Linked DNA regions of Homo sapiens: regions 2 and 3 are each linked to region 1. Evidence: promoter capture Hi-C in 16 types of primary human blood cells and fetal thymus (Javierre and others, 2016). All regions are on one chromosome and are shown on one strand. The core of a region is centred on a gene start or on the middle of the fragment in contact, and the rest is flanking DNA. Distances in the headings are between cores, read along the strand shown.

Region 1 (3,582 bases), core at 418-2,917:
GCAAAAGGCATGGAATGATTCCAGATAATGTGTTATCGGCAACGTGAGGTTCCAAGAGAGATGAGTATTTTCTTGATTCCTCTTTTTGGTACAATGAACATTTTCCTTGCAATTTTTAAATCAAACTATTTGAGAAAAATACTCTGCACAACTTAGTACAAACAATTTAACAAGAAATCAGCTAGTCTTGTATAACACTTGTTAAGATCTCCTATCTCCTCTGGTCTAGTATCTGGTGTTTATTGTTTTCTAATACAGTAAAAACATTCATTGATCACCACACCAAAATACATACATGAACCTAAGTTTCCAAATACTGAAACTGCTGTTAACAGCCTATTATTGTTTTAAATATGACTTATAAGTCCCAGTGTAAGTCATAGTTTTTTCTAAAGCATGCCTAGCATGACACAGCATGCAAATGACACAACTTTAATAAAATTTTCTCTGCCACCAAAATGGTGGTCAACTCCCCGAAGTCCACTTGTCTTTTTTTAACCCAAAAATGACACTATTTGTTGGAACAGACCTGATTTTCTATAACCTTGAAGACTGAAGTACACAAAACCTCTCAAAAACCGTTCAGCAAGTTACAAATGCCTACCTTGGATATAATAGCCATCTCTCAGTCCACCGAATTTCTCCTGGCCGGCTGTGTCCCATACATTGAACTTAATAGGTCCTCTGTTGGTGTGGAACACTAGGGGATGAACCTCAACACCCAAGGTGGCTGAAACGGAAACGATGCGATTGAGTGGATGAACTTACCCATTTCTCACATATTTCCACAAGCAAGGTTTTCCAGCACATACCTACATACTTCTTCTCAAATTCACCAGTCAAATGACGTTTCACGAAGGTCGTTTTTCCAGTACCACCATCACCAACCAATACAAGCTGTTGAAAAACACATTTTGGAAGTAAACCCTAAACACTTCACCTCTCAAGATCCCAGAGTCACGGAACTTTAACCACCACAGGCTCACTTAAAACAAAGAATGTGGATGCGGGGCCCCATTACAGCCATCGTGGCCCCAGGAGGAGGGACCCGCGAGTCGCACGCGGTCGGGCTCGGCCGCCTCCCGCCCCGCAGGGTTACCTACTTTGAACTGGACCTGGGGCTCTCCCTGCGCAGCCATCGCGGCGTTCCTGCGGAGGCAGAGGACGGAGGCGAGCGCTCGCGCGGCCCCGCAGCCCATGGCGGCCCCGCTCCCGCGCCCCCAGCGCCCCACGTGCCCGCCCCACAAAGGCCTCCCGCCCGCGGCGCCATGGCGGCCAGGCCTGGGAGCGGGAAGGCGGCGGGCGGGGCCGGCATCCGGGGCGGCGGGGCCCGGGGAACGGCGGCCGGAGGTGTAGGGATGGGAACGGGACTGGGACCGGGACGGGGATGAGAGCGGAGGATGAAACGGGGGTTCGCGGGGGCTAGCGCCGACCCCACGCCCGTCTCCTGCCCCGGCCCGGCCGGGCCCGCACCACCCACCTACTCAGCCGCCCGCTGCCCCTGGGTCCGCCACCCGCCCCGGCCCTGGCCCCGGCTCCGACCCCTATCCCGCCGCCGCCACCCCTGTCCCCGCCCGGCCGTGCCGGGCCCGCCGGGTCGCGATACCTTCCAGAAGCGTCTCCGCGCCCGTCCGACTGAGGCTGGAAAGATGGCGGAAGCGCAATTCAAACGCCGGAGACGCAGCCGACGCCGGCGCGAGAGCAGGGGCGGGGCCGGCGCGGGGCGGGGTTGCAAGGGGCGGGGCAACGGCGCGGCGCCCGCCCACGTGGCCCGCGCGTGCGCGCACGCACGCAACGCGGTTCGGTCGGCCGCTCGGGCGGTCGCTGCGCTTAGGGTGGGGCGGGAGGCGCGGTGGACCGCGTGGGAGGGCGAGCCGGGAGCGCGTACGCAAGCCGGCCGGTGGGGACCGCGTGCGCCGACGCCCCGGGCGGGCTCCCGGGCGCGCATGCGCTGAAAGCGAGGCGGCGCGCCCCTGAGCGGGAGACGTTGGGCGCGGCCCGACGGTCGCGGCTCTCCTGCCTCCCGGGTGGGAGGCGGTACTCGCTCGGGCAGACGTGGTCAGGCACGCGGCTTCCAGGCGCTGGCCAGCCTGTCCTTGTCTGTGCCCCGTGGGGTGGGGGTTCTTGAGGTCCTGGGGCTTAGGGTGGCTCGCGTGCGCGCAGGACGGGTGGGTGACAGAACGAATGAATGAATGAATGGGGTCTAGGCCCGTCCTCCAGAGGCAGCCCGCTGTTCTGTCTCTCCAGATCGTAGCCTTCACGCCCCCAGGACCAGGGCCAGTTGGAGAGCGAGGAACCAGAGAGGGATGCACCCACCCAGAAAAACGGCTACTTATTTTTTTTAAGAGACGGAGTCTCGCTACGTTGCCCAGGCTGGTCTCGAACTCTCAGGCTCGGGCGATCCTCCCGCCTCAGCCTCCCGAGTAGCTGGGACTACAGGCGCGCACCACATCAGGGGTAATTTTTTAAAAATTTTTTTGAGAGACAGAATCTAACTATGTCTCCCAGGCTGGCCTCAGGGGATCCACCCGCCTCGGCCTCCCAAAGCGTCCGGCTTCTCAAAGCGTTTCATAGGTTGGCAGCTTTGGCCGCTGCATGCTACAGACAAAATGATGAAATACTGTTTGCAGTCTGGACGCGTCTACCAGCCCTAGTTACCAACGGGGACGGAATGAGTAAGTGCTCAGCTTCCCAGCCCCCTGTTGGCCTGAAGCTGTAAGAGCCCAAACAAGCTTGAGCTAGAGGGACCCGACTTCCTGGGCGCCCCTGCCGACATGCAGACAGATAAAGGCCCAAATCAGCGCAGTCAAGCGCCTCAGAAGAGTCCACCATGGGGAGAGAGCCGCAGTGACCGAAGAGTCCTCCCTGCAGTCCTGAGCACACTTGCAGGCGAGTCCGCTAGGAACCCCAGTGACGCAAATTAGGCACAAAGCAGGCGACAACCGGCCTGCTGGGAACGCAAGTCCGAGCTCCCCCAGAACCCTCAGGGGAACCCCAAGCACCTCTCAGACGCTGCTGGCGGGAGAGCAGAATCTAACAGTAAAACGGGAATGCCCATTGCTTGTGACCCCGGATTTCCATTTCTAGGGAGAGGCCCCAGAGTTAAACTCATGCCTCACGCATGTGCACAACATTTAATACTGTATAACATTTAAAAGGAATGACGGTCATCTGTTTCAACAGGGTTAGATAGATGTCAAAAGGATAGTGTTGAGAAAAGAAGAAAGAGGTGATAACAGCTTTATAAAGTCTAGGCCACCTGTAATCCCAGCACTTTGGGAGTCCGAGGTAGGAGGATCCCTTAAACCCAGGAGTTACAGGCTGCAATGGGCAATGATCTCACCATTGCACTCCAGCCTGGGAGACAGAGCAAGACCCTGTTTTCAAAAATTAATACATAAAACCTAACACTATATGTAACTTTATCTAGAGGGATTATATATATAGTATAATGTCATTTATGTATATTTTTTACAAATACACATAAAACAAAAGCATATTGGCTATTGGATATATGTATTTTGTTGTTTTTTTTAATTGACTGCAAGGATCTATATACCATATCCTGATGGTTATTGCTTC
Region 2 (3,582 bases), core at 644-3,143, 6.9 Mb after region 1:
AATTATATCTACTGAATTTACTGAATTCCATGTCCTTCAAGGGCAGTGACTAGGTGACTTTGTATCTTCACACACCAATGTTGCAGTAAATGTTTGAGTCAGATTGAAGTTTCATCCCGGCTAGGTAGGTGCTAACTTAATGACACCAGTTTCCACATCTTCAGCTTTGATGTTTCAACCTGCAGAAGGATTTGGGCACGGAAGTGGCTGTGTCCTAATTGTCTTCAAATATTTGAAGGTCTGTCATGCAGCAAGGGATTTCATTTATTTTGAGTAATTATTGAGTACAGAAAAACAGATTTCACTTCTATATGAAGGCAAAAGTTGTTTATGGTGAGAACTAGCGGTGGAAAGAAGGGGCTGCTCCTTCCCTAGGGGCTTTTGGGATCAGCTGGTTCCCCACTTGGCGTGAATGGCTATTAGGAGGTATCACAGAGGTATAGGAGGGTCTTTCTGAGAGGGACTCCTGGGTATTCCGATGGCAACTATATTCGAGGACTTCTGTACTTCCCTTTTAGCACTGTGGCTTTTGTTTTTTGTTTTCTTATGCTGGCTTCTAGAGTTGTGGACGTAGCAACATCCGCAGACACCTACATGAACCCTAGGAAGATTTTTTAGTAGATTAAAGACCCACCTGCTATCGAAGATGATTCTTAGTCGTGCTTTGCATTTGTATGGCACATTACAGGGAATAAAGCACTCTCGAATTCAATGTGTTTTAAAAGACTCTTTTTAATTATACATGATTTGTATTTCTTTCTTTAACTTTATTTTCTACAATAAACATTGAATCAAGAGGAAAATTACCCTTTTCTAGGAAGGCAAGCAGAAAAGACTTTTTTTAAAGCTGTTTTTAAAAAATGGGATGGTGCCAGTCATCCTTTGGAGAGCCAGCAAATTATGAAGGTGAATCGTTCTTTTACTTGGCTGAAAACATGTTTTAAAAGATACTGAATAAGGCCGGGGGCAGTGGCTCACTCCTGAGGCCGAGGCGGGCAGATCACGAGGTCAAGAGATCAAGACCATCCTGAGCAACATGGTGAAACCCCATCTCTACTAAAAATACAAAAATTAGCTGGTCGTGGTGGCGCAGTAGTCCCAGCTACTCGGGAGGCTGAGGCAGGAGAATCGCTTGAACCCAGGAGGCAGAGGTTGCAGTGAGCCCAGATCACGCCACTGCACTCCAGCCTGGCAACAGATGGAGACTCCGTCTCAAAAAAAAAAAAAAAAAAAAAAAAAACTGAATAAGAGATGATATAAGAGATGATTCTTGTGCTTGCTCCGCATTTTAGTTTGTTTATTTCATTACTCAAACATGACTCAAGTTTCACAGCAAAAAGTCCAGTCATATCCACCTACATTAAGTTGCATTGGATGTTTTTTCAGTATGTCTGCATGGTTTTTAAAATATGCTGGCAGCTGAAGGTAAAACAAAGCCAAGAAGTAGAATTACAGCAAGCCGAAAAGCTTAGGGGAATTGGAGCTTTGTGTTTGAAGAAGAAAGACATGTGCCCTATTTGTATGAAACCAATCTTGAGAATGATGGTTTTATCAGCAATGGGAATAAGGATTTATCTATTATAATAAAGATTCGGCTACTGAGTGTCAATCTAATACATGTATTAAGTGGGTCAATGAGGTGGGGACTCCAGTCTGTGGCTAAGAAGCAGAGCAGAGTTGCCTGTGAACACCAGAGTGCCCAATACACAAGGATTGAAGTGCAGCAAGTCAGTAATGAGGCCGATTGAGTTAAACCAAGATCTGACCTCTCCATTTTAGGAAGAAGAGGAAAAAACAATTCTGAATTAATGTTTGCATGGACTTAACTTTTTAAATGTCTTTTAAAGTAGTTACTCTCTCGTTCTCTAGCAGATGAGTTTGTTTCATGCTTTTAACTTTTTAAACGTCTTTTAAAATAGTTACTCTGTCTTGTTCTCTAGCAGATGAGTTTGTCTCATGCTTTTCACTTTTTAAATGTCTTTTAAAATAGTTACTCTCTCTCATTCTGTAGCAGATGAGTTTGTGTCATGCTTTTGTGTCTCTTACCCATTAGCTGACTTTGGGTGTGATAAGTGACTAAGACTCCTCAAACTTTGAACAAGGAATATACCATTTATTTATGCTGTATGCATGAAGGGAAAAGAGACGAATATCAAGTTTTTCTGGCCAACCAAGAAATAAAACTTTAAAAGTGTTTATTTTTTCAGGAAAAAAAATCACAGATACTACTTAAATATTATTACCAGGACAACAAATTAGCAAATAAGGCAAGTTAGAAAGCAGCATTTTCAAGGTTAAAGGTTGCACTTTAAAGCTTTAACCATGACTTCTGAAGGGATCACACAAACATCTTTAAAGACTTCTTTGTTAATCAGAAAACAGTTTACATGCAAATTTCCACACTGGAGAGCCGACCGAGATCAATACTTTCATGATTATTCCCAATTTACTGCTTTATCAGAAAGAACTTTACTACGAAGCAAGAAGTGTCTACTCTTCTGTGAAGGAGTAAGTTTTCTCCTTGTTTCTGAAATTCTTTATTCTAGCTGAATTCTCAAGACTGAGCAGTGAACTTCCATTGGTTAGCACCAAATAGAGCAAGCCTGAGTAAGCTGCTTATAAAAAGGGGAAAAAAACGACAGAAGAAAACTTTTAATAAATGGAATATGAGGCACATAATACTCTGCTTCTACAAATTTTCTTTTTGTTGCCTCTTTGGCAACACTTAAGATACTAAATTTAGGTCTGCATAAAATCCATTATCCTTTGCTCTTCAGATTTCCTCCCCAGTCCATTTCTAAATGCATCCTGTGCCCTTCTCATTTACTATGCAGGTAAGAGAGTTTATGAGAAGTCATTAAAGCCCATGTTCTTAGGTAACATTGTTTAAGCATTAAACACTACATGTAAATTGTCATTCTCAATATTATTACAATACTGTCTTTCTTAAAGTTGCACATTTTACCTAGAAATCCGTGGCATCATACTCTGAAAAGATCATCTTCGATATAATGCAGAGGACACGTAAAAACACTGGGTTCCCAAGAGAAAGTTCCATCTCTGTCATACATAGCATAATTATCTTAGGCTCTCCATATTTTTCTAATGATAAGTGAACGTAAGAGGTTAGGCTCGTGCCATACCTTAAACATTGAAGGAGGCTTTTTGTAACTCCTTTCTCTTCGGCTGTCACACACATCAACCCAGATGAAAGGCACTGCTAGTGTTTCTGCCTCGGTGGCTAGTAGCGTGGGAGAGCAGATACACTTTTTAAAAATAGCCAAATCTTGCACATTGATAAGAAAGATGGAGAAAGGTTGGAGTTTTTCGCTCAGTTTTGTGTTCCCATAGATAAGAACATAGCAGAAGTTATTAGGTTTGGCCTGTCATTTTCAAGGAAGGTCAGTATCTGATACTGAGTCATCTTTATCTTCTGGTTGAGTCCCTATGACAAGACCAGAACGTTCTAGTAGAATAGAGCAGCAGCTTTCTGGCATTAAGGTACTTGCTCATTGACATGCCCTATTGCTCTCGGGGGAGGAAGGATGTGTAATCCTCCTCAGCCTCTGCAATGTGATTTCA
Region 3 (3,582 bases), core at 413-2,912, 6.0 Mb after region 1:
GAAAATATCCTTGGCTGGGCGCAGTGGCTCACGCCTGTAATCCCAGCACTTTGGGAGGCCAAGGGGTGCAGATCACCTGAGGTCAGGAGTTCGAGACCAGCCTGGCCAACATGCTGAACCCCCCCCCATCTCTACTAAAAATACAGAAATTAGCAGGCGTGGTGGTGCACGCCTGTAGTCCCAGCTACTCGGGAGGCTGAGGCAGGAGAATCGCTTGAACCCAGGAGGCGGAGGTTGCAGTGAGCCCAGATCATGCCACTGCACTCCAGCCTGGGCGACAGAGCAAAACTCTGTCTCAAAACAAACCAACCAACCAAAAACTAAAAGCCTCTCGCACTCCCGTGTGTATTGCAGCTTTATTCATAAGTGCCTAGATGTGTCCGTCAACAGATACATGGATAGAGAAAATGTGTACATACGCAATAGAATACTATTCGACCTTAAAAAAATACAAAACAAAATGAAATCCTGTCATTTTTCCTCTACGAAACAAAAATAAAAACATGGCTAAGTTTGGGCGACATTACATAAAGTGAAATAAACCGGGCACAGAAAGATAAATACTGCATGATCTCACTCACGTGCGGAAGCTGAAATAGTTGGTCTCACAGAGAGAATAGTGGTTACTGCAGGTAGTGAAGGTGGGGGGAGGTGGGATAGCCAAAGGGGGGTTACTGGATACAAAAGTACAGCTGAATAGGAGGAATAAGTTCCAGTGTCCCTATAGAGTGAATACAACAACTTATTGTACGTTTTCAAATAGCTGGAAGCGTGGATTTTTAATGTCTCCCAGCACAGAGAAATGATACATGTTTGAAGGGATGGATGTGGTCATTGCCCTGATTTGAACATTACAAATTGTGTACATAGATCACAACATCACACCACACCTCATAAATGTGCACAATTGTTATGCGTCCAAACAATAATAAAAACCAAAAATAAAAATGAAACACGTGGAAACAGGAAAAACGCCTTTAAGAATAGAGTATAGCAAGGACTTCCAAAAGCAAGTACAGGAAAGGGAGGGGGATGTAGCTCAGTGGTAGAGCGCATGCTTTGCATGTATGAGGCCCCGGGTTCGATCCCCGGCATCTCCATTGTAGTTTTGTTGCTTTCTGTATTCGTTTTGGTCCGTGGTTCTTTATCATTAAAGTGCCATGGATGTGATTATCATAAGCATTGTGATTCCAGGCACTACTTGGAGCTCAGATTCTCACACCAGGTGTGATCTTCCCATTCTGAAATCTCTAATGTTTCAAATGCACATGAGTTAGAAGAGGCTGATGGGAGTAATCAGCAGAAAAGTGTTAAGGCAAAACCTGACTTGATGACTGAAACCACAGCAAAAGTGAGCAGGATGATCATTTGGGGAGTGTACACCACATCTCGTGCCACCATGATTGTACTGCACTGGCCTCGAGGGCTGTTGACGCATTCTTGGCCATCAGAGGGCAAGTGTGTAAGTTGCTGGAAGGTCTGGGCCCCCCTGTTTGCCATCTCACTCCTCCTCTGCACTGCCACGAACCACCTCATTTGCATGGGAGGAACCCAGAAGCAAACTCACATCCCAGCGGGGCTTTGCTCTCTGCTTCCTCAGCAACACGTCTCCACGGCTGTAATGCAAGTGCAATTTACATTTATATTCATACACTGTGTTCCGGGGTGAGCAGGCCTATGCAAACCTACCCCAAAGGCCAAGGGAGCTGAGAGGCCAAAGAAAGGGGTTGACAAACCCAGTTTCTCAGGAAAAAACATTTATTAGGGACTTACCAACAGAAGCCATAGTCTCAGGGTGGTCATCAGAGGATATAAGGTTTGCTGCGCCATAACCCCCGGCCCAGGGCTTCCATACCATAGGGAAGGAATATATGTAGGACAATTGAAGTTGACCCCTCAAGCAAGGCAAGAATGTTATGTGAATCCGCATAAGGGAAGGATTTATGATCTAGGTTGTTCTGATCTAAGGGCAGAATTTATGGTAACAGTAAAGTAGAAATCTTAGAGACCTTCCTGGAAGAGGCATTAATCGGAAGTTATCTTGGTGGATTAGCAACCAAGATGGAGTTGCTTTCACCTCCACTGTGTTTCTGTGTTTTATCACTGAAAGCAAAAGATGGTGGCTCAGGCCTGTAATCCCAGCACTTTGGGAGGCATGAGGCAGGAGAATTGCTTGAGGCCAGGAGTTTGAAAGCAGCCTGGGCAACAAAGGGAGACCTTGGCTCGGAAAGGAAAGGAAAGGAAAGGAAGGGGAAGGGGAGGGAAAGGGGAAGGGGAGGGGAGGGGAGATTGATTTACTTGCATGAATGATCTTTAGGCAAAAATAAATACATAAAAATAAATTATATTTTTTAAAGTTTAACCAGTTCCCAGCTCTCTAAATAATAATAAGAATGAAAGAAGGGATTCGGCTGCATTCTGTGGTACAGTTCTTTGCAATTATAATGAATTCCTCACCTGTCAGCCCCTTTCTTTCATTTGACTTGACTTCATGTTTTAAATGGTAAAAGCGTCTAATCCTAGATCTAGAGCTTTCATTTTTGAGATGAAGAAAATGAAACTTGCGAACTGACTCACCAGTTAGGTGGTGACGCATTGGTGACAGCTTGTTTCTAATGAGCTTCAGGAAAGGTTATTTCTCCCTAAATGTCAACAAGGTTTTAGGGGAAAATCATTGAAGATAATTTCTGAAGTCATCAGGCCTAACACAAAACTTACATGCTTCTGTAACTGCCCAACAGTTTCTCCTTGCCCGCTGCCTAGACAGAGCCCATTTATTAGGACAGGGAAACTGTGATCCGCCCACCTCAGCCTCCCGAAGTGCTGGGATTACAGGCGCAAGCCACCTCGCCCTGCCATAATAGAGAACGTTTAATTCACACACAGCTGGCAGTGTGGGAGACGGGAGTTTTACTATTACTCAAATCAGTCTCCCTGAAAACTCAGGGATTGGAGTTTTGAAGGATAATTTGGTGTGTAGGGAGGTCGGGAAATCGGGAGTACTGATTGGTTGGGTCGGAGATGAAATCACAGGGAGTCGAAGCTGTCCCTTTGCCCTGAGTCAGTTCCTAGGTGGGGGCCACAAGACCAGATGAGCCAGTTTATCAATCTGGGTGGTGTCAGTCGGCCCACTGAGTGCAGAGTATGCAAAATATCTCAAGCACTGGTCTTAGGTTTTACAATAGTGATGTTATCCTCAGGAGCAATTTCAGCATGGACAGAATCTTGCAGTCTCCAGCTGCGTGACTCCTAAACCATAATTTGTAATCTTGTGGCCAATTTGTTAGTCCTGCAAAGCAGTCTAGTGCGCAGGCAGGAAGGGGGCTTGTTTTAGGAAAAGGCTATCACCTTTGTTTCAGAATTAAACTATAAACTAAGCTCCTCCAAAGTCAGTTCAGCCTACACCTAGGAATGAACAAAGACAGTTTGGAGGTTAGACGCGAGATGGAGTCAGTGAGGTCAGATCTCTTTCACTGTAATAATTTTCTGTTATGACTTTTGCAAAGGCAGTTTCACTTCTGTTTTACTTTGTTTCTTCTTTTGTTTATTTATTTATTTATTTTGCTTGAGACAGGGTCTGTT

The links. The method cuts DNA at HindIII sites, captures the fragments that hold promoters and counts their contacts. A CHiCAGO score of 5 or more calls a contact.
Region 2: a fragment that was not itself captured here is called in contact with the fragment with the promoter of RAN in region 1 in 1 of 17 cell types (total B cells); the score reaches 5.5 in total B cells.
Region 3: a fragment that was not itself captured here is called in contact with the fragment with the promoter of RAN in region 1 in 1 of 17 cell types (naive CD8 T cells); the score reaches 5.7 in naive CD8 T cells.

What each region holds. Positions count from the first base shown.
Region 1 is chr12:130,870,151-130,873,732 of GRCh38, reverse strand. It overlaps RAN (RAN, member RAS oncogene family), which reads right to left and starts at 1,667. Exons shown (of 7, transcript NM_006325.5): 1 at 1,607-1,667; 2 at 1,104-1,149; 3 at 813-897; 4 at 605-730. The coding sequence starts at 1,139. RefSeq lists silencers at 1,153-1,362, 1,413-1,552, 1,623-2,082 and enhancers at 1,104-1,865, 2,363-2,442, 1,866-2,627. The HindIII fragment of the contact is 6,850 bases long and covers 1-2,734 here.
Region 2 is chr12:123,967,120-123,970,701 of GRCh38, reverse strand. All of the region lies in intron 1 of CCDC92 (coiled-coil domain containing 92), which reads left to right. Among named protein-coding and RNA genes, the nearest start is that of CCDC92, 3.9 kb to the left of the region's middle. RefSeq lists an enhancer at 1,418-1,919. The HindIII fragment of the contact is 847 bases long and covers 1,470-2,316 here.
Region 3 is chr12:124,919,273-124,922,854 of GRCh38, reverse strand. It overlaps TRA-TGC3-2 (tRNA-Ala (anticodon TGC) 3-2), which reads left to right and starts at 1,029; the gene lies at 1,029-1,100. RefSeq lists enhancers at 1,234-1,553, 1,120-1,798, 1,634-1,823 and a cis regulatory region at 1,408-1,578. The HindIII fragment of the contact is 6,001 bases long and covers 1-3,582 here.